Regions from separate parts of the Homo sapiens genome. Here regions 2, 3 and 4 are each linked to region 1. The links are contacts of gene promoters, found by promoter capture Hi-C in blood cells and fetal thymus (Javierre and others, 2016). All regions are on one chromosome and are shown on one strand. The core of a region is centred on a gene start or on the middle of the fragment in contact, and the rest is flanking DNA. Distances in the headings are between cores, read along the strand shown. Region 1 holds the start of KRT78 (keratin 78). Region 2 overlaps KRT72 (keratin 72). Region 3 has its middle 6.7 kb from the start of KRT5. Region 4 overlaps KRT71 (keratin 71).

Evidence for each region. Contacts are between HindIII fragments. The CHiCAGO score rates a contact against its expected background, and 5 or more counts as called.
Region 2: a fragment that was not itself captured here is called in contact with the fragment with the promoter of KRT78 in region 1 in 12 of 17 cell types (naive CD4 T cells, M1 macrophages, endothelial precursors and 9 more); the score reaches 12.8 in naive CD4 T cells.
Region 3: a fragment that was not itself captured here is called in contact with the fragment with the promoter of KRT78 in region 1 in 1 of 17 cell types (naive CD4 T cells); the score reaches 5.7 in naive CD4 T cells.
Region 4: a contact is called between a fragment that was not itself captured here and the fragment with the promoter of KRT78 in region 1, in 3 of 17 cell types (naive CD8 T cells, non-activated CD4 T cells and erythroblasts). The highest score is 6.1, in naive CD8 T cells.

Annotation. Positions count from the first base shown.
Region 1 is chr12:52,845,117-52,850,243 of GRCh38, forward strand. It overlaps KRT78 (keratin 78), which reads right to left and starts at 3,878. Exons shown (of 9, transcript NM_173352.4): 1 at 3,431-3,878; 2 at 2,791-3,005; 3 at 1,648-1,708; 4 at 1,081-1,176. The coding sequence starts at 3,814. The HindIII fragment of the contact is 13,226 bases long and covers 1-5,127 here.
Region 2 is chr12:52,588,153-52,593,157 of GRCh38, forward strand. KRT72 (keratin 72) reads right to left here. Exons shown (of 9, transcript NM_080747.3): 3 at 4,740-4,800; 4 at 4,244-4,339; 5 at 3,312-3,476; 6 at 2,684-2,809. Among named protein-coding and RNA genes, the nearest start is that of KRT72, 11 kb to the right of the region's middle. RefSeq lists an enhancer at 1,260-1,429. The HindIII fragment of the contact is 1,084 bases long and covers 1,374-2,457 here.
Region 3 is chr12:52,524,597-52,529,522 of GRCh38, forward strand. No RefSeq gene overlaps it. Among named protein-coding and RNA genes, the nearest start is that of KRT5, 6.7 kb to the left of the region's middle. The HindIII fragment of the contact is 2,626 bases long and covers 619-3,244 here.
Region 4 is chr12:52,542,099-52,547,080 of GRCh38, forward strand. It overlaps KRT71 (keratin 71), which reads right to left. Exons shown (of 9, transcript NM_033448.3): 7 at 4,188-4,408; 8 at 3,467-3,501; 9 at 1,811-2,645. The coding sequence ends at 2,434. Among named protein-coding and RNA genes, the nearest start is that of KRT71, 8.6 kb to the right of the region's middle. The HindIII fragment of the contact is 271 bases long and covers 3,355-3,625 here.

The sequences.
Region 1 (5,127 bases), core at 2,628-5,127:
GCCATTCTTCTCCCTCAGCCTCCCTAGTAGCTGGGATTACAAGCACCTGCCACCAAGCCTGGCTAATTTTTGTGTTTTTGTAGCGACAGCGTTTCACTAGGCTGGTCTCGAACTCCTGACCTCAGGTGATCCACCTGCCTCAGCCTCCCAAAGTGCTGGGATTATAGGCATGAGCCACCGTGCCCAGCCATCTTCAGACCTCTTATCATACTCCTCTCCCTCTCGCTCCTACTACTCTGGCCACACCGACCTTCCTGCATTTCCTCAGACAGCACACTCCCGCTGTGGGCTGCAGCCACTGCCTGGAATCCCAGAAACCCACCTGCGTGGTGACCTTCCTCACCTCCTCCAAATCTTTGCTCAGATTTTATCTCCTAAATAAGGCCTACCCTGGCCACATGATTTGAAGTTGGCACCTGCTCCATGTTCCCAATCCTCCTTTCTCTGTTCTCATTTTCCTTTTTTCCATTGCGTTTATCACCTTCTTCCATACTATATGATTTCCTTATTTACTAAGTCTGTTGCTTATTGTCTGTCTCCCAATAGAAAGCAAACTTAGTCGGGCGTGGTGGCTCATGCCTGTAATCCCAGCACTTTGGGAGGCCGAGGCGGGTGGATCATGAGGTCAGGAGTTCAAGACCAGCCTAGCTAAGATGGTGAAACCCCATCTCTACTAAAAATACAAAAATTAGCTGACCGCAGTGGCGGGTGCCTGTAATCCCACCTACTTGGGAAGCTGAGGCAGAGAATTGCTTGAAGCCGGGAGGCAGAGGTTGCAGTGAGCTGAGATTGCACCACTGCACTCCAGCCTGGGCAACTGAGCAAGATTCCATCTCAAAAAAAAAAAAAAGCAATTTTTTTATCTGTAGTGATTTTTTTCTGGTTATTCATTGATGTATCCCCAGGACCTAGCAATTCACATAGTAAGTTTTCAGTAATTGGTTGTCAAGTGACTGAATGACCCAGAATCTAAGCCACCCTAACAGACTTCCCCTCTTGGCCATTCTCCTCATGGCCACAGGAAGCCTGCCCACCCAGTCCTCTCTCTTGGCTGCAGCCTGCCCTTTGGTTGAGCCTCACTTCTTCATTCAGATGCTTCAAGAAGTAGAGGTACTCTCTCAGAGCCTCCAGCTTGCCCTCCAACTCCATCTTGCTCAGGAAAACCCCATCCACATCCTGGAGACAAGGGGAGAGAGAACACGTAACCCCCTCTTCCTCTTTGGGGTCCCTACTCTGGCTCAGGAATTCTGTTCATGCACTGCTCAACACCCATCCACCATGCCTCCCAAGACCCCCTCCTTCCTCCTCCAGCCCCACTCTGTCCTGCTCTCTCCTTTGCCCAACATTGACCCAACATCACCTTCAGGAAGTCTTCCCTGATTAATCACAACCAGTTCTGCTTCTTCCTCTCCCTCCCCGCCCTCTCCTGCAGTGACATCAAGAGCTCGTCAAGCAGTCCTTTAGTCAGATCTTGCCTTGGGGCCCCTGTGTCTAGGCAGATGTCCCATTTTCCCAGGGGACCCCTGCAGGTAGAGTGATAGCCTGTCCTAAATCAGGACCTCCCACCTTTTCCCTCCCAGCCTAGGACTAGGCTCCGTGCACAGTGGATGCTCAGAACGTAAGTGGAGCACTGGCCCCCACCCTCACCTTCTTGAGGACCACAAAGTCGTTCTCAAGTGTGGCACGCCTGTGGGCCTCCTCCTCATACCTGCCAAATAAGTAGAGAAGGATGCAGTTTGAGGCTCCACGGTCAGAGCTCATGCCCCCATGTCCGAGCATGACCTCCCTGAAAAGGACTCCTTGCCTTAGAATGCCCCCAAACAAGACAATAACCAGCCCTTCTCTCCTTTCCTGCCACGTCCTAGCTATGTACCTGTGCCACCCTTTCAGCCCATGTCCTTTTGATGACGACAGCCACATTGTTTCAGTTTATAAGGCACATTCGAATACCTTTTCCCACTTGCTACTCACACCCATCACTTGAGGTAGGCAGTTTGGGTTTTATCAGAGAGATTAGATGATTTGACCAAGACCCCACAGATGACTAGGTAGACAAAGCAGAGCCAGCCCAGGTCTTCTGACCCCAATCCAGGGCTCCTTCCAGAACCTTCCTTCCTCCACCTCACATCCCATTATCCCAATAGCCCTGGGAGGCCAGAAGGGCAGGTGACATTTCCCAAGTTTACAGAAGGGAAACCAAGTCCGGGAGAGATGAGATGCCTTGCCCAGGATGCACAGCTACCCCTCACTCACAGTTGCCCCAACCCAAGCCCCCTATTAGTCCAGGGCTCTCTCCACTCCACCAGGTGACCTAGGCGTGGAGCCCAGAACCACAGCCCATCTGTGAATTGTGTCACAGGCCTGGGGACAGCCCCACTAAATTGATTCCCTTCCCTCTTTGGAACCAGAGAACATCTGAATCACTTTAGCCCACAGCCCGCTGAACAGGAATTTCTCAAGAATAAAAAAAGCCACTGGGGCATTGTTTAAATAAGCCCTTCCCAGCCTTGACCGGAAACATGGGCCCTTGTAGCTGGGGCATGTAGGACACCGGTCTCCCTGCCTTTCCTCCAAGGTTCTCCAGATCTGCTTGGGGACTGCGGGACACCTCGTTTACCTGTAGCAGGTGGGCACCTGAGAGCCTGGGGAATGGGGACGCGGAGGGGTAGAGGGGAGGCCAGTCATGTGCCTCTGGGTGCTCAGTATGTGGGACACCTCCTGGCTGACAGACCCAAACTGAGTCATCCCAGACCCCGCCCACATGGCATGGGGAAATTTCAGTGTGCCTACTTGGACTTATACTCCTCCTCCTGGTCCCGGCAGGCCTTCAACTCAGCATCCAGAGCCCCTCGTTCTCCCTGGAGCTGCTCCAGCTGCTTCCTGAGCTGATCCAGGCAGGCCTCAAAGACAGGCTCCAGGCCCTGCTGGCTGCCACTCAACCCCTGTTGCTGCAGCAGATGCCACTTCGTCTCCAGGACCTTGTTCTGCTGCTCCAGGAACCGCACCTGCAGCAAAAGCAGAGGATCCCTGAGGCTCCTGTGGGACTCCCTGTGCACAGCCTCTGGAAAGTAAAGCCTGAGGGACCCTCCCATCAGCCTCACCTTTCCCCTGTCCCCCTGCCCAACCTGGGCAGGGGAAGCCTCATGACCTTCCATGACACTCTGAACACAACAAAATGACTGGACTGACTAATGGGGCAGGGCCTTCCCCCCGCTGGCTGGCAGTTCTCTGTCCCTGAGCCCCAATCATGGAACAACAGGGCCTCAGCATAGCCAGAGAGAGTCCAGTTAGTCCACAGGAGGGACTTCTTTGCTGCAGAAGTTATTAGAAAAGTGGTAGAAGGAGGCCAAACTTCCCATTTCCAAGTCCATCAAGAGCAGCTCCTCCAAGGGAGGCACAGAGACAGGGGCTTGGCTGAGTTGACCCTCACCTTGTCAATGAAGGAAGCAAACTGGTTGTTGAGGGTTCTGATCTCCTGGGTCTCCTGCGTCCGCACCACCTGGAACTGGGGATCGATCTCAATCTTCAGTGGGGTCAGCAGATTCTGGTTGATGGTCACTTCTTGGATGCCCCCCGGAGGGCACAGGGAGAGCCCAGGCCCACCACTCCACTCCCCAAACCGCACCCCCAGCCTACCCCCTGACCCCCAGGTACTCCCACGAGAGCCTTCCAGGCACCCCCCAAAGGAATTAAGGCTCCTGCTGCTGAAGCCGCCCCTGCTGCTGAAGCCTCCCCTGCTGCGGCCCCTTGAGCGAGCAGAACAGGCTGAGCGAGCGCTGAAGCCCCTCTGGGCCCGGCATGGGGAGAGAGACATGGCAGAGACAGACAGTCACGCAGCTGCAGACGGACAGACAGATTGTCAAGGTGTGTGAGTTTCTGCCCTGGGGCCCCAGCACGAGACTTTTATCCACTCCCGTACCTGGGCTGGGCCTTGGAGAGCAAGATACTCTTGACCTGACTGTGTCTGTCACTTGGCTCCAGCTGACTTACTCTGACGTGCCTGGAGAATAAGTGTCCGGCACGTGCAGAGCCAAGGGAGAAGGAAACCCAGACCCTGCCCTCAGAGCTCCCAGGCTGTTGGAGAAATAGGCATGCCCAAAGACAAGGAAGCAGGCAGGAGACTGGGATGTCAGTGCTGAGGGACAGGGAGGGATGGCCGGAGCAAAGTCACTGAGGCCCTCAGGGAAGGCTTCCTGAAGGAGACAGGGAAGCGAGAGGAGGTTGAAGAGGAAAGAACGCTAGAAGGGGTTCAGAGGAAGCATCAGAGTGCCCTGGATTCTCAAGGGAGAATCTGCCTCAAGGAGTTGGAGAAGGAAGGCACTTGCAGCGCCACAAAGAGAGGAGGTTAGTGGAGGTGTTATTGCCATAGTTGGCTAAAAGACACTCCAGGATTTGGAAATGAAACAGAAAAACAGGGTTTCCAAGTCCTTCCTCTTGCCCAACCCAGCAATCATCCATGAGGCACCACCCACTGAAATCAGGCATCTCCATCCAGGATCGCATGGGACAGCACGTTTCTGACCCAGCCTGTGGCTCTGCTCCTTCCACAAGCACTTGGGGCCAGGCCCATCCACCTGCCATCAGGCTCCGCTTCCTGAGGTTACAAATCAGAGCCACCCAGGCTCTGAAATGAAATGTGCATTTAGGGCCGGGCACAGTGGCTCACGCCTGTAATCCCAGCACTTTGGAAGACCGAGGTGGGTGGGTCACTGGAGGTCAGGAGTTTGAGACCAGCCTGACCAACATGGTGAAACCCCATCTCTACTAAAAATACAAAAATTGGCCAGGTGTGATGGTGCACACCTGTAATCCCAGCTACATATGAGGCTGAGGCAGGAGAATTGCTTGAACCCAGGAGGCAGAGGTTGAGCAGTGAGCCAAGATCGTACCACTGCACTCCAGCCTGGGCAACAGAGTGAGACTCCATCTCAAAAAAAAAAGCAAGGTGCATTTAGAAAATACTCCTAAGCTGGGAACGGTGGCTCACGCTTGTAATCCCAGCACTTTGGGAGGCCTAGGCGGGTGGATCACGAAGTCAGGAGATCGAGACCATCCTGGCTAACACGGTAAAACCCCGTCTCTTAAAAATACAAAAAATTAGCCAGGCGTGGTGGCAGGCACCTGTAA
Region 2 (5,005 bases), core at 666-3,165, 260 kb before region 1:
TATCAGCTGTAAGATTCTTATGTCAACTCTGAAAAAAAGTCTCTGAGCAGCTAGATTTCATTCAGCTCTGCAGTGTACAGGTTGTTTTAGGAGATCCCATAAATCATGGGGAAAACATGAGGGCTAATAAAGTTCCTATTAATAAATTGTCCTATAAACTTGCCACACTTAGAGTTTGGTCCCCAAATCCCAAAGAGAACTATGCTAAATGGCAACAGGCTTAGAAGATACCTTTACTTAACTGGGAACGGAAAACCAAACACCGCATGTTCTCACTTATAAGTGGGAGCTGAACAATGAGAACACATGGACACAGGGAGGGGAACAATGCACACTGGAGCCTGTTGGCAGGTGGAGGGAGATAGAACTTTAGGAAAAATAGCTAAAAAAAATAGCTAATGCATGCTGTGCTCAAGATGCATGGTTGATAGGTGATGGGTTGATAGGTGCAGCAAACCACCATGGCACACGTTTACCTATGTAACAAACCTGCACATCCCGTACATGTACCCTAGAACTTAAAACCAAAACTAAAATTAAAAATAAATAAATAAATAAAATAGACTGGGCACAGTGGCTCATGCCTGTAATCCCAGCACTTTGGGAGGCCAAGGCAGGTGGATCACCTGAGGTCAGGAGTTCAAGACCAGCTGGCCAACATGATGAAACCTCGTCTCTACTAAAAACACAAAAATTAGCCGGGAGTGATGGCACGCAGCTGCCTGTGGTCCCAGCTACTCGAGAGGCTGAGGCAGGAGAGTCACTTGAACCCAGGAGACAGAGGTTGCAGTGAGCCCAGATTGTGCCACAGAACTCCAGCCTGGGTGACAGAGGGAGAATCCATCTCAAATATATATATATATATTAATTAATTAATTAATTAAAGAAGATAGCTTTGCATAACTGCAGCTGGGGCTGTGTGCTTGCACTTATGTGAAAGCCCCCAGGGGGCTTCCTGAGCCCTTCAGTCTGGTATATGTTCCCTCAGCTAAGGTTTTGGTGGGAGCTGAGGTTTTCTTTCTGGGGTATGCCCATCTGTGGAGCCACATTTGCTTCACACCAAGGAAAGCAGCTGATCCAAGGCCAAATGGGCTCTAGAATATTGTCCAGCTGCCACCATCCTCCTCTGCTGGGCAGGCCCACAGCAGTGCCAATGCCCTCGTATTTTGGATGAGTGGCTCACAGCCTCAAGGAGATGCCTAGGACCCAGCCTTCTAACCACAGAAAACCCTGCCCCACCCTTGGGACTGTAGAAGTTTTAATCATTCATGGAGTGGCCACACACACTGTCACCTGAACTCATCAAACTGTCTTCTGTTCTTTTTTACTGACCAAGATCCCACACAGTGAACCTGGGGCAGAGGGACACCAAAAGCTTGGGTCTTGTGAACATGGCCCGAGTTGAGAGGACTTGAAATTTTAGCATCCTTTGAAACAAATGTCACATGAATGCTGAGGACACCAAATGCCAAGGAACTCTGCATGTGACATGGTGGCCTTCTTTGATGGAGGAGGCCAGAAGGGCAGGAAGCACCTTAGCTGAGGGCCCTCAAAAGGAGCCGCAATGGGGACTCAGCATTGCGAGGGATCCCCATTTGTTCCCCGCAGAGGGTATCTTCCCTGACCACCAAAGCAAGTCAGTTTCTGGTAATAACTTCGTCCAACCATAAACACATAGCATTTCATTAGTTAAACACTGTAGTAGAATACTGAGGGTAGCTTCAAACATCTGCGTTTTTTCTGCACTTATATAGCTCTTGATTAAACAAAAACAACTTAAGTTATTTAATGCTGGTCTTTCTTCTTCCCACTACCATGAGCACAGAGGAGTAGTGCGTGTGTGTGTGTCTGTGTGTGTGTGTGTACATGTGTAAGCATGCACCATGCGTGGTGAGAGATGGGGTGCAGGGGAGGGTAAGGAGATGGGACAACTTGACTTGCCTGGGAGCTGAGAGCCTTAAACCCTTGCACTGCTTTCACAAACTTGAGGACTCATGGGTTTGCTTGCTTTAGAGCCACAGATGTGGTTGCACGGGTACTACCTCCCAAAGAGGGGGACCTCGGTGCAGTGTCCTCCCCACAGCACAGCACTAGTGCAGGAAGGCCCCACGCTAGTGCAGGGCCCTGAGCCCGATCTGGGTTGTGGGGGCTGTGCCTCCTCCATTTTGTTCTAAAATCTCCTGCTGGATTCTCTCTCCTCCCACAAGGTATCATCATGGGAAACCTTCAAATGGCTCCCTTTTACCTCCTGCGTTAGGTCTAAACCCCAAGGCTTACCTATTCCTACCCAGTGGTGTACCCTGCTCCCTGCCACCCCTGCTGAGCAGCGAGCTGCCTGCCCCAGATAGGCAAGCCCACCTGCACACGTGCTGTGCACATCACTACCTAGGCCCATTGCTCCTGCGGGCTCCTTCACCTGCTCCTTCCCCTCTCCTGGTGTAATCCTACCTCCTGCAAAGCTTCCCTGGGGTCCTCATTCACCTCTCACCCCTCTGGGCTCCTGTAACACTTACCTACAGTGTGTAGGCTGCTTTATCCCTCCATATCTGTTCAGATCATCCTCTCCTGGTAAATTAGAGGAGGCCCTAAGGAGGGCACTGTGTTTTACCCTTTCTTCATATTCTGTCTGGCCCAGATTGTGACTCAATAAATACTGTTAGTGGATTAATTTCATAGAACCCACCTGCTTCTTCACATTCCCTATCTCTGAGCGGATCCTCTGGATCAGGCGGTTGAGCTCAGAGATTTCAGCCTTGGTGAGCTTGAGGTCATCCCCATGCTGGCCTGCTGTGACCTGCAGCTCCTGGATCTGAGGTTGGGTGACAAGAGAAGAGGAACACAAGGATCCTACTGAACTAGGGCAGGTCCCTTTTCTTCTGGACAGAAAGGATCCTGCCCTAGTTCAACAAGATCCTCAGGTTCTCAAACATGAGAGCCTTGGCAGAGTGTGAATTTCCTATCCTCATTTTGCCAAAGTGGAAACATGAAGATAAGACAATATATGTGAATTACCCATAGAAACTGTGTCAGAATCCTATCAGGGTTGTAGCTGGTGTGGCCTCAGCCAAGGGCCGTGATAGGAGAAGGGCTAAGCCCCATATATGTCCGCAAAACAAGCCAAGACTGTAGTTAATCTCCCTTACCCCTGGGGTGGCATTTCCGCAAGGCCCAACTTCAAGACAAAGGAGGTCTTGACTGAGCCCAAATACACACACACACACAAACACACGCACACACACGTACACATGCACACATACTGAGAGGGTGCTAGCTGTGGCCAGTGGGACTCAGCACACCTGGCACCAGCTCACCTTGGTCTGGTACAGGGTCTCAGCCTCGGCCTTGCTCTTTAGGGCAATCTCCTCGTACTGGGCACGGACCTCGGCAATGATGCTGTCCAGGTCCAGATCCCGGTTGTTGTCCATTGACAGGACGATGGACGTGTCGCTGATGTGGGACTGGATCTGAGTGATCTCCTGGGGACGGTTGGGGGAGGGGAGCTAGTTAAGGGGTACTCATGAGGAACCAGTTCTCTTGGTCCTCCCTGGGCAAATTCCTCACTGTCCCTCTGCCTTTCCTCAGCGTTTGAACTCTGCCTCAGCACCAGTGCCTGGCAGGCACGTGAAGAAGTGCCTTAGGCTTTCAGCCCCAAACGCTGAGACTCCTCTCTCCATTGCACACTCAGGAGCACTCCTGCACCCTTCTACATTCTCATCCTCAGAAACCAGCCACCGCCACCCTCCACCCATAGGACCAAGTCTGAACTCTTTACCTAGCATGTGAAGTCCCCTAGGGAGTCACTAGCACCAGTCCCTTCCCCAGGCCTCTGCGCCCTTCTTCATTCCTCATGCTTTAGCACAGGACAGGCTCCTGGACCTTCTATTTTTCTGCCCCCCTCAGCACCCACTGAAATCGTCCTCTTTCTCCTCTCTCTCCAAGAACCTTCACTGATGGCCCAGGCAGAACCCACCATTCCTTCCTCTGCTCTCTGAAAGCTCAGCTACGTGGTGTTTTCCTGCCAAGCTGTGAACTCCTGGAGGGCAAGAATCACTTCTTCTCTTTCACGGACTCCTCAAAACCTAGCTCATTGTTCAGCACCCAGTAGGGCCTTGGTGAATGTCAGGGGCACCAGGTTGAAAGCTTTCTCCCTCCCAATTCTTGGTCCACACCACCTTCCAGCCAGGGGCCAGAAACCTCTTGTTAAAGGAGCAGATCTCACAAGAGAGGTCAGCCAAGTCCTTACCCCTTCATAAAGGCACTTGAAGAATTTAATCTCATCTGTCAAGGAGTCCACCTTGGCCTGGAGCTCAACCTTATTCATGTAAGCAGCATCCACGTCCTGGGAGCACATGATAGTCAAGCCGCCCTGAGAGGGCCTCCCCTGCCCATCCCTCCCTCCCTGCCACAGGAAGCCTTGCTCTTTCCTCTCCCTTCACCCTGTGCTTCATGGGGGGCTCCCTGAGAGTCCCCTTCAGTCCCTGAGAGTAAACCAACTAACGTGCAGTGCAATGGCTACACCAGTAGTGCAGTAAAATGCCCAGATTTTAGACTGGCAAATTCTAGAAACAGCATGCATCCCAGGCAAGGGACTTGGAGGGAGGGGCTGGGAAGTTAGAGTGCCAGTCACCCCTGCCCAAGGGACTGAGTGACCTACAGGGCCCCTTTCCTCACCCTACAAGCATCATTGTGCCAGGTGGTCAGGTCTAGGCTTCTTCCAGCCCACCTGGCACCCCTCTTACCTTCTTGAGCACCACAAACTCATTCTCAGCAGCTGTGCGTCTGTTAATCTCCACCTCATACCTGCATGGGGCAAGACAATGAGGTAATTCAGTTCTGCAAACACTCACTGAACAGTTAGTGACCACCTCTGTGCTGAGAGCTGCAGGGTGGGGGTCTTCAAACTGGGATTCCCATACCCCTGGGGCACACATAACCTTGCTTAAGAGGATGCAGGCAAGGACATAGTTAAAGGAATCAATTTCCAGCTCCTTTGTGCCTGTGCATT
Region 3 (4,926 bases), core at 682-3,181, 320 kb before region 1:
CCATGCAAGCTGGAATTTTAATTTTGAGCTGGCTGGGGCTGAGCAGGAAGGGAGGGGCAGGCCTGCAGGGGGCTGTGGGGAGCAGCCTTGGCCCCCATCCCTTAGATTCAGCAGCCGATTGGCCCTGGCAGGAGAGGGTGCAGAGCAGAGCCCTCCGCTTCCCTCCAGCAGGCCCCTGCAAGTCTGAGGAATGTTCTTCCCTCGTATGAAAGGTGTTTTGCTCATGGCACACCAAACTCTTTGAAAATCCCCCTTGGTTGATTGAAACTATGGGCTGGAAATCAACAAATACTTTAATTAGTCAGAGGGACTAAAAAAGGATATACAGCAAAATCCTCTGCGCTTTGCTTTCTCATAGAGGGTGGTTTTATTTTTTAAATAAACACTTACGTAGGAGTGACCATGTGCCAGGCACTGCCCTGCACACTTTACATATATGAATATGAAACTAGAGCATGCAAAGAAGGGCTCTTAGCACTTCCTCAGCTTGGCTGTCCAATGTAGGTGTCAGTGTGTCCCATACTCTGGGGATTTGCAGCCTCCCTCTTCAGTGGAGAGGCAGAGACATGACTCATTTACACCAGGTTGTATCCCTGCAGCATCAGAGGTGCAGAAGGAAGCTTGCTGACATCCCCAACTCACCCACTGTTCCATTTCTCCCTGCTACTTTCTGTTCTCTCACCAGTAGCCACAACTGGGAACGGGGAGGCAGAGGAGACGCTACAGCTGCCCCCCTCCCCAAGTTTGTGTTTGGCTCAGGGCTTCCTGGTCCTGGGAGGGAGGGCAAGTGCCGGAGACAGAGCCTTATTCCATCTGGCTTTCCTGCTTTGGGTGAGCACTGATCATGGGTGGGGGGAAGGTGGGGTGAGTCAGGTGAGCTCTGATCATGGGTGGAGGGCAGGTGGGGTGAATCAGTACAGAAGGTGGTAATATGGTGAGGGAGAAAAGAAAGTAAATGACAGCATTGAGGCTGGAGCTGTTGCCTCTCCCAGGGCCACCCTCAGGAAATGCACTCGGCATCTGCACAGTCCTCAAGGCCATGGGACACCTTGCTGGCCCCAGTCCCACCGTCTATGTGAGACTGTGACCCTGTGTCCTTCCCCATTTCCTCCCTCAGACTCCAGGACACACTCGCAGCTCCCATCTTCATGTTCCGTGAGCACATGTGAACACTGACCTGCTCACTGTCCACTTGGACCAACGATCACTGTTGAGGGTTTGTGAAAACAGGTTAAGGCTTCTTCCAAGGGAGACGCAGTGCAAAAAGCAACTGAGACAAGAGAGCGTGCAGGAGTGTTTCAATTCATGCCAGTCATTGAATCAGGTCCTGTTCCACATGTGTGACTTGGCCAAGGCAGATGCCATGCACTGGACTTCTGGACTCTGGTTGTGTGACCCTGTACCCTTCCCCATTTCCTCCCTCAGACTCCAGGACTGCGAACAGGGCTGGGTCTCCTCTAGGATCTCCTTACCAGACCCAGGATGGTGGCCCACACCACTTGACAGTGACGGGTCACTGTGCAAGGGCCGGGTTAGGGAAGCTGGCCTGACTTGGTTTCAGAGAAAAAAACCAGCCCAGTGATCCATCCATAGAGGAACAGGCTGAGTTCAGGGAGGTGGAGCCTAACGCCAAGCCCTTGGCAAGGTGAGGTGAGAGCCAAGCCTGGGTCCTGGTCCTGTCCCACACGCTGTTGTTGCCCTGCACTGCCCATCTGGGCCTCAGCAAGAGCCTACTTGTCTCCCAGTCCAAGGCTGCACGTCTCAGTCCTCTTCAGAGAGCCATTTCCCGAGGGCTGTGTGCATGACAGGGCTGACAGGTGACTGTGATGGGTGAGGGTGTTTTTACTGCTCCCCACCCCTCCCCTGTCCAGAGCCCTCATGTCCAGGTGCTGGTCTGGGTCTTTCCAGGGAGCAGACTGGCCTTCAAGCCTAAGTTAGCACCGAAGCCTGTTCCTCCAAGGCATTTGTCTGCTCTAGGCCATGAGGTCCCACCAGTCTGCAGACGCTGATCGCCTCTACTCCAGTGGCTGATAATAAGGAGTTAGAATTCACACATGACTCCCTCTGCCCGTGCCCAGAGCCTCACAGTACTTAGCTGGGCCTCCAGTCAAACCCACATCCTCTGTAACAGTTGTCAAGGACTCCCACTATTTCTTGCTCATTCACAAGTCCCTGGTCCCCAGGGCCTTTCGGCCTCACCTCCACTCTCCAGCCAGGTGGATCCCTTCACAGCCTCAACCCCATGTCGGCCGGTTCCCGATTTAATGTTAGAGGGTCAGTGCTCAGTGCTGGTTCTGCCTGCTCCCTCCCTCCCTACACTGTGCCTCCCCACTCCCATCTTCTCTGGCACAAAACGTGAAACAAGGACCCAGATGCCTTCTCTGGCAGTCTCTTGCAAATGGGGGAGATGTGGAGATGTATCTGACGATTTCTAGGCAGCTTGTCTCTCTGAAGTTCTGGACTTTCATGATCCCCAAAAAGCTCACAGCATGGGATGAGCCTGAGCCCTCGATGTGCTCTGTGGCTTGGTGAAAGATGACAGCAATCACCACACTTGAGTGGCACTGACTGTGAGCCAGGCATGGTTCTGGATGTATCAACTCATTTACTCCTCACAGCCTCGTGGGGTGGGCCTAATATGATCCCTGTTTTGCAGATGAGGAAACTGATGCCCTGAGAGGGTAAGCAACTGGCAAGTGACAGAGCCTAGGTAAGAGCCCAGGCAAGGGTGTCTCCAAAAGCCCTTGTCATCACCATTGTGGGCACTTGGATTTTCAGTGCAGGACTTGTGATTTGACTCTGAAGAGGATGACTTCAGCAGAGGCCTCAACCTCCGGATAGTCTGTGAAGGCAGCAAACAGAGAGGGCCCCAGATACCACTCAGCAGTCAGTATACCATAACATCTTCCAGCAGCCCCAAGAGAGAGGGACCCCTGCCCTGGAGTATAGACAGGGGAGGTGCCCTTGGAGACCCCCTCCCTTCTCTGAACTGCCAGAACCCAGGGCAGGACCACTAAGACTCTGGGGCAAGACTCAGGGGATTGGGGTTCCCTATAAAATCCTATACAATGTCCTCAAGGGGGAAGCCTGGGGATCGCCTGACACCCATCTCCCTCCTACCCTGGCACTAGGCCCAGGGCAAAGCCCAGATGCTTCCTGGGGCAGTCCTTCCAGATGCATGAGACGTGGCTAACAACTGCTGATACTTCCTAATACCTTGGGAGTAGCCCAGTGTCTTGGCCCAAGCTTCAGCGATTCGCTCTATTCCTCCCCTCTCCAAACCCCACAACCGCTTATGGCCAAGACACTCAAACAGGGCCCTGCAACACTTTGTTCAGGATGAGCAGAGGCCATGATCAGGAGAGTATGAAATGGAATAACCCAGCCTGAGCATTATTTGGCATTTTGGATCCTTTGGGATGGGCCAAACCACCCTGTGGCCTCTTAGAGACTGACCAGCTCCTTGCATGAGGCTGCCCCACTTAGAAAAGAAATTAGCACCATTCACTGAGATATGTAGCCTCGTTGCTTTTGGTGATACTGGACCTGATTTCCTCCAGCCCTTCTTTGAAGTGAATGGATACTGAGTGCTTACTGTGTGCCTGACATTGTGCCAAAATGTAGCATGCGTTATCTTACTTACTATTCATCCATATTCATCCACAGGTGATCAGCACTACTATTTGTCCCGTTTTCTGAGCCTCAGAAAGGAACATGTCTTACCTAAGCTCATATGGATAATATTTGTCAAAACTGGAATTTGACCCCAGGTCTGGCTGCTCCTAGAGCTTATGCTCTCAATCAGCACATAAGGGGAATTGCTGAGGGGACCCTGAAGAGCCAGTATCCCCGTCAGCAACATCAGCAGCCCATATACTGAAGTCACGCAAATAGACATGCCACTTAAACAAAATGGTATGCTCCTCTGCAAACCAGCTTTGACACAGACCTGCCATGCCACCGCCCCTCCTAACCAGATCGCCACCTCTAAGCCCCAAGCCCTACCCAGGAAGAAATTCTGGGGGTACCACTAGGGTCATCAATGCCACAATGCCCCCTGCAAGATGTAGCTGCGAGCTCTCTGGGTCTGTGAGGCCCAAATGCTCTCCATCTCTACCCATCAGCCTTCCCAGGCAGGGCTGTGCCAAGGAGTGAACAAAAGCTCCATTCACCATGACCCTCTCCCCGCCCCCACCATGCCCTGCTTCCCTCCTCTCCCTGCTTCTCTCCTCAGCCACCTGCCCCAGGAGTCCCAGCCAGTTTCTCAATCTGCTCTGAGGCCTTGACCCAGCCATCAGCCTCCTCATCCCCAGGCCATCCTGGAAGGGAGGGCCTCAGTGTCCAGGGCTAGGGAGACACTCAGCAGCCACTGACGCCACGCAGCAGATGCCATGACCTGTCTAGGCCTCTCGGGCAGCTGACCTGGGCATCCCTGAGGGCTGGGCCCCCTCACTCTGGCGTCAGTCATGGCCTCCTGCAGGTTGGCACGCCACCCTCAGCAAAGAACAATAACACGTTATGGTCTGCAAGTCCTCAGGTACAACATGGCTCCATTGTTCTGAGTCTGGAAAATGATCTCACTCTCACCCTGAGAACCAAGGTTAGCCCCAGTCCTTCGGTGAAGCAGGGCCTTCCTTTGCCCAGGAATGCACAGTAGCTTCTTATTGGCCTTATGCTCAACAATTCGTTCTTCTGGGTCCCCCTTCCTCATCATCCCTCCTACCATCTATGATAGGTGGAATAATGATCCCCAAAGAAGACCCCATCTTAATCCCCAGAAACTGTACATCTGTTATGTTACATGGCAAAGAGACATTAAGGCTGAAGATAGCATGAAGGTTGCTAACCACCTGACCTTAAAATAGGGAGATTATTCTGGATCATCTGGGTGGGCCTAATATAATCCCAAATGTCCTTAAATGTGGA
Region 4 (4,982 bases), core at 2,240-4,739, 300 kb before region 1:
GACTTAGACAGCAATATTTTTCTAAGTTCCTGGGTTATTTTTCAGCCTGTTTAAAGAACTACTACTCTTGGCAGCCATAACCAAATTACCATGTAGATTCACATGGTGGACACCTTGCCTGCTAGTCATTGTCATTATTTCCTTTCCTCAGAGCCCTCACTTGCTCCCAAAATTGTCCATCAAGCCCTGCCTTCTCATGCTGGAACCTGTCAAGCTGATAGCTCAGGCCCCTGCCATGGGCCCCAGTGCTGGGTTTCTGAGTCTCCTGCAGGAGGCTCCAGTCTCCAGCACTTGGTTTTGTGGCTCTAGAAAACAGACTCAGAACCCAGGATAACCCTGCCCACTCAGGAGAACTCTGTGAGCCCTGGGGCATAAAGGGAGTTCTTCCCTCCCTCCTCAAATCTGTGAGATAAACCAGCATCATCTAGAGAAGCCTCCACCTTCACATTTGAGAATCTAGCCATTTCTTTTAGCCTCTCAACTGGAAAGTTCTTTCTGCTATCCAACCTCGGTCCCTACTGTTGCAAAGGCAGGAGGCTAGCAAAGGCAGCAGGTGTGCATGGTGCCTTCACTGAGGAAATGGCAATGTCTGTGCCCAGTACTGAACACACACACACACACACACACATGCATGCACACACACACATGCCTCATCTTATCAATCAAGGACGCAAACATGTTGTTGAGTCTTATTCCACTTACCCACCTGCTAGATGACGGTGCTGACAGGTTGATGACAGCCAGGAGTCTCCGGCTCTGACCATCTCCTGGGCAGGGGCTTTTGAGCCTTGCCCTAAGCCCCAGTCACTACTCTAAATGTCCTAGATGTCAACTCAGACCATCCGTCCCTTCCTCCGGACCCTCTGTCTTCCTCTTCCATTATACTTGGTCTTCTTGCCCCAAACCTTCATCCTCTGATCCCCCTCCAGCCCAGCCCCAATACCAGGCCTCCCTGCTCCTTTATGAAACTGAAACCCTCTTCCTTCCCCCAGATGACGTCATTAGTGTGGCTACTGTGAGACTAGGTCGCTGCCCACTCACTGCAAAGACGTTGGCTTCCCACCCACCTGCAAATGCCCTGAGCCTCCTACACCTCCCCTCCCCACCCAAGACACAGAGCTGGCCTAGGGAATCTGTCTGTTCACTCTCCTTACACCCCTTACCAAGGCAGGACTGGCCATCACCATAGTGGTTCTGGAAGGTGGGATAGGAGTATGTCTGGGGCAGTGCCAACCCCCCAGTCACTGAAATTCATAGCCCACCCCCACCCCATGGTGGGACCCCAGCTCACTCCTCCCTACACCAGCCCCAACTTCCAAGACTTGTTACTTATCTTTCCATCTGAGAAGCCAAGAGTGTGGGACTCCCACCTGCTGACCCCCGCAGGAGGCCAGGCCTCTGAGCGGTGAGAAAAGGGCTGGACAAATGCAAATACCTGTGCACTAAGCCCACCTTCCAACGAGGAAAGGTGCAGTCTCAGAAAGAGGCAAGGTCAGGTCAGGAACACGACCATTTCTCTGTCACTGGACACAGTTTGTGCATGTCCATCTGCTGAAGCCTCCAGCCAGTACATGCACACGCTTTCTGGGCTTCTCCTTTCCTCCCTCCCTGCCCCTCCTCCCAGACCCTGCTCCACACCCCATTTGCCTCCTGAAAATTAACACAGACATATAGGCTGCATGGGCAATACACAGTGATGTACTTGTGTGTGTGTGTTTGTGCTTCATGCATTCATGAATGTACATGGTGCGCGCTCATGTGAGTGAATTGAGGTGCATGTGCATACTTTGAATACTCAGAGACCAAGCCATGAGATTGTGCTGTTTATTGAGGTTGCAACAGAGGAAGGCCATTAAGAATAAAGGAAAAGTGAACAGTGCCTGCTTTTCTCTGCTTCTGGGTGCAGGTGAGTGGAGAAAAAGGCCCTGAATTGCACTTGGTCCCACTCAGATTTGAGACTGAGCTAGATGTGGGGGTGGGGACTGGGCCACTCTTGGTTGTTTGTCCTTCAGTCCTCCTTTTCTTAAACACAGAGCCAGCTCCTGGCATAGGCAGGAACTATGCTAGGTCCCAGTGTGTGCGGGGCCTTGGGCAGAGACCCAGGGAGCCCAGCAGAGTAGTTAGCGACTGCGCTAGAGGCCGGGCAGAGGAGGAAAGCTGGCAGCCAGGACCTGGGCTGGTGGTGTAGCTGGGGGACCACAGCCAAGGAGTTAATAGGGTGTGTACAGGGAGGAATTTCACCAAGCTTGGTCATCCAGGCCTTCCCAGGATCAGGAAGACACAGGCTGGGAGAAGTGGGTGGCCAAGGCCAGTGCCAGGTGTATGGGAGCAGGACCAGCAGGGTGGAGATGGAGCTGAGAGTGGGCTGTGGGAAGTACAGTGTGGGATCCAGAGCCGGGTCATGGAATGAGGCGGGGCCCGGGGCAGTCTTCTCTACCGACTGGTTTTCTTGGAGGGTGCACTCAGGCTGGAACCCTTCCCTAGGGTGTCTTTGTAATCGTTGGCACTGCCCCGGCTCCTGCCCTCCCCGCCTCTCACGCTGCACACTCCAGAGATGCAGTTGCTGCTGTTGGCCACATAGCCACCGCTGACCATGCTGGGCCGGAAGCCATAGACACTGCCGCCACTGGTGCTGCTGATGATGGCTGCAGGAGGAGCCGAAGCCAACACCCACTCAGGCAGAGAGCTGGGGAGGCCTCCTTTTCCCCAGGGCAGACAGGGCTTTTCTTGGAGAAGCTGAGTGGGGAGGTGCACACCCGCTCCCTCTCCCTGGGGAGAATGTACCAAAGACAGCTTCCCTAATGCTCTGTCCTTGGCTTGTTCGGCTTATATCCAATCTGGCTGAGTCTTGCCCCATTAATGCTCAGAGGCCCTACTCCTTGGTCCAGGTACCAATACCCCTACCTGTCCTCCTGGACACCCACCCATTGCCCTTTCTATTAGCCTTTTTGCTAAACTTCCCAGCCTCTAACCTCTTCCTCCTGCTAGCTGTCCCACAGCAGGCATCTTTCCCAAGCTCTGGTTTAACTCTTTTAGCCCTGCTAAGCAATGCAGTGATCTGATACTGCCAGCTTGACCTCTAAGATCCCTCATTCTCTCATTCCCTCAGCCCTCCCTACTTCCCAAGCCCAAGTCTGGTTGCAGTTTGCAAACCTGACTCCCTAAGCCTCACACAGACCCATGCATCATTTTTCTACAACATAACCCTTGCTTTCCCATGACAATAGCTTTCCATTGCTGCCATCCCCTAGGAACAGAAAGTCAGAGGGATAAGAATAAAGGAGGCCTGGCCTGGGAGTCAGGAAAGCCGATTTTGGCCATGGCTCTGCCATCTGGCTTTGTGATCTCAGGCAAAGCTTTTCCCTCTCTGGTTCTTAGATCCCTCATCTGCACACAGAGGGTGTCACTAAGGTCCTTTCCAGGCTGCAGATTTTACAATTTTAGGTGAAAGTATACAAATACTTACAGATGCTGACAGGGGAGGGAAATTCTCCTGACATCCTATTAAGGAGAGAAATAAAATAAGAGGAGAAGAGAAGTCATCCAGCTCAGTCTCTTTAAAGCTACTGCCACCATCAGCCTTATGTGGGTTTTTGGACCCAACAGGCACCTGTGGAAATTCCAAAGCTTCTCTGATGCAAGCAGAGCCTGAGAAGTTTTGGAGACTACCCCCAAATCTTTGGGGTAACCAGACAACAACCCTAGTCAAACAATAGTTTACAAAAGGTGCACACGTAGGGGCAGTGTATCTACCTCCCACGTGTCAGGTCCACACACCAGCCTGCCATCCCTGTAGAGCCCTGGGGAAGCTGGGGTGGCTGCCCCGGCACACCCCCAACAAGCTGCACATGGACAGATCAGGAAGAGGGAACAAGAATGCCTAATAGAGTAATGGGGTTTTGCAGGGAGCAGGGCGGTGGTTGTTTCTAGTATGCCCAGGAAGAACGAGCAAATCTGCATAGCTTACTACATAGCATAGTGCCTGCCATGAAGCAAGCTCTCACAGTCTACTGAGTGGATACTCATGTCCACTCATGGTAGTATTGTTAATTACTGTGATTATTTCTATCCTCATCACCCCATCACTTCCTAAGAACTCATCTCTTCTGGATTGAGATGTGTTAGGCTTTCTCCTTTGGGTCTTCCCAAACCCCTGGGGCCCTCCTGTCTGGGCACGCCCCGCCCACCTGCACTCCTCGCTCTCCAGTAGCTTGCGATAGGTGGCGATCTCCATGTCCAGGGCCAGCTTCAGGCTCATGAGCTCCTGGTACTCGCGCAGCATCCGCGCCAGCTCCTCCTTGGCCTGGTGCAGGGCGCCCTCCAGCTCGTCCAGCTTGGCCCGGGCATCCTTCAGGGCGTTGTCTCCCCGCTGCTCAGCATCAGCGATGGCTGTCTCCAGGTTGGAAGCCTAAGGAAGGAATTGGTGAAGTCGAAAAATTTGGAGGAGCCACTGCAACCATCCACATCCAATCCCTCTGGGTCCTTAGAGTGGGGCAGAGTGGCCCGCCTCCACCCTACACACACCATCACACTTCCTTGCAGCAGAGCCCCTTCTGGGGCTGGCACCTCCCTCCTTAGCTCTAGCCCCATTCCCTGTGTTGGATGTGTGGGTGATGGAAATCATGCAGCCATGCCCTCCTGAGCGCCACTTTAGTTCAGCATAGAGACATTTATTCAGCCATATTGTGCCAAGGGCACGAAATGAATGACAGCAATACTCTTGAGTTGTTTAGGTCTGGGAGGAGAGATGGTCGAATATGCTGTGGCAGACGCAAAGGCAGCAGCTGCCCAGGAACAGGGCACCACAGTCGAGGGGGACAGGGAAGGACACACCCCGGGAGCAACCGTTATTTGCCAAGCACTTAGTGTATGCCAGCACCAGGCTCAATACTGTACATACCATTGACATAACTTAACGCATTTAGTCCTTGCAACACCCTGTGAAGTGAGCAGAAGTAACCTGTCCAAGATCACAAAGCAAC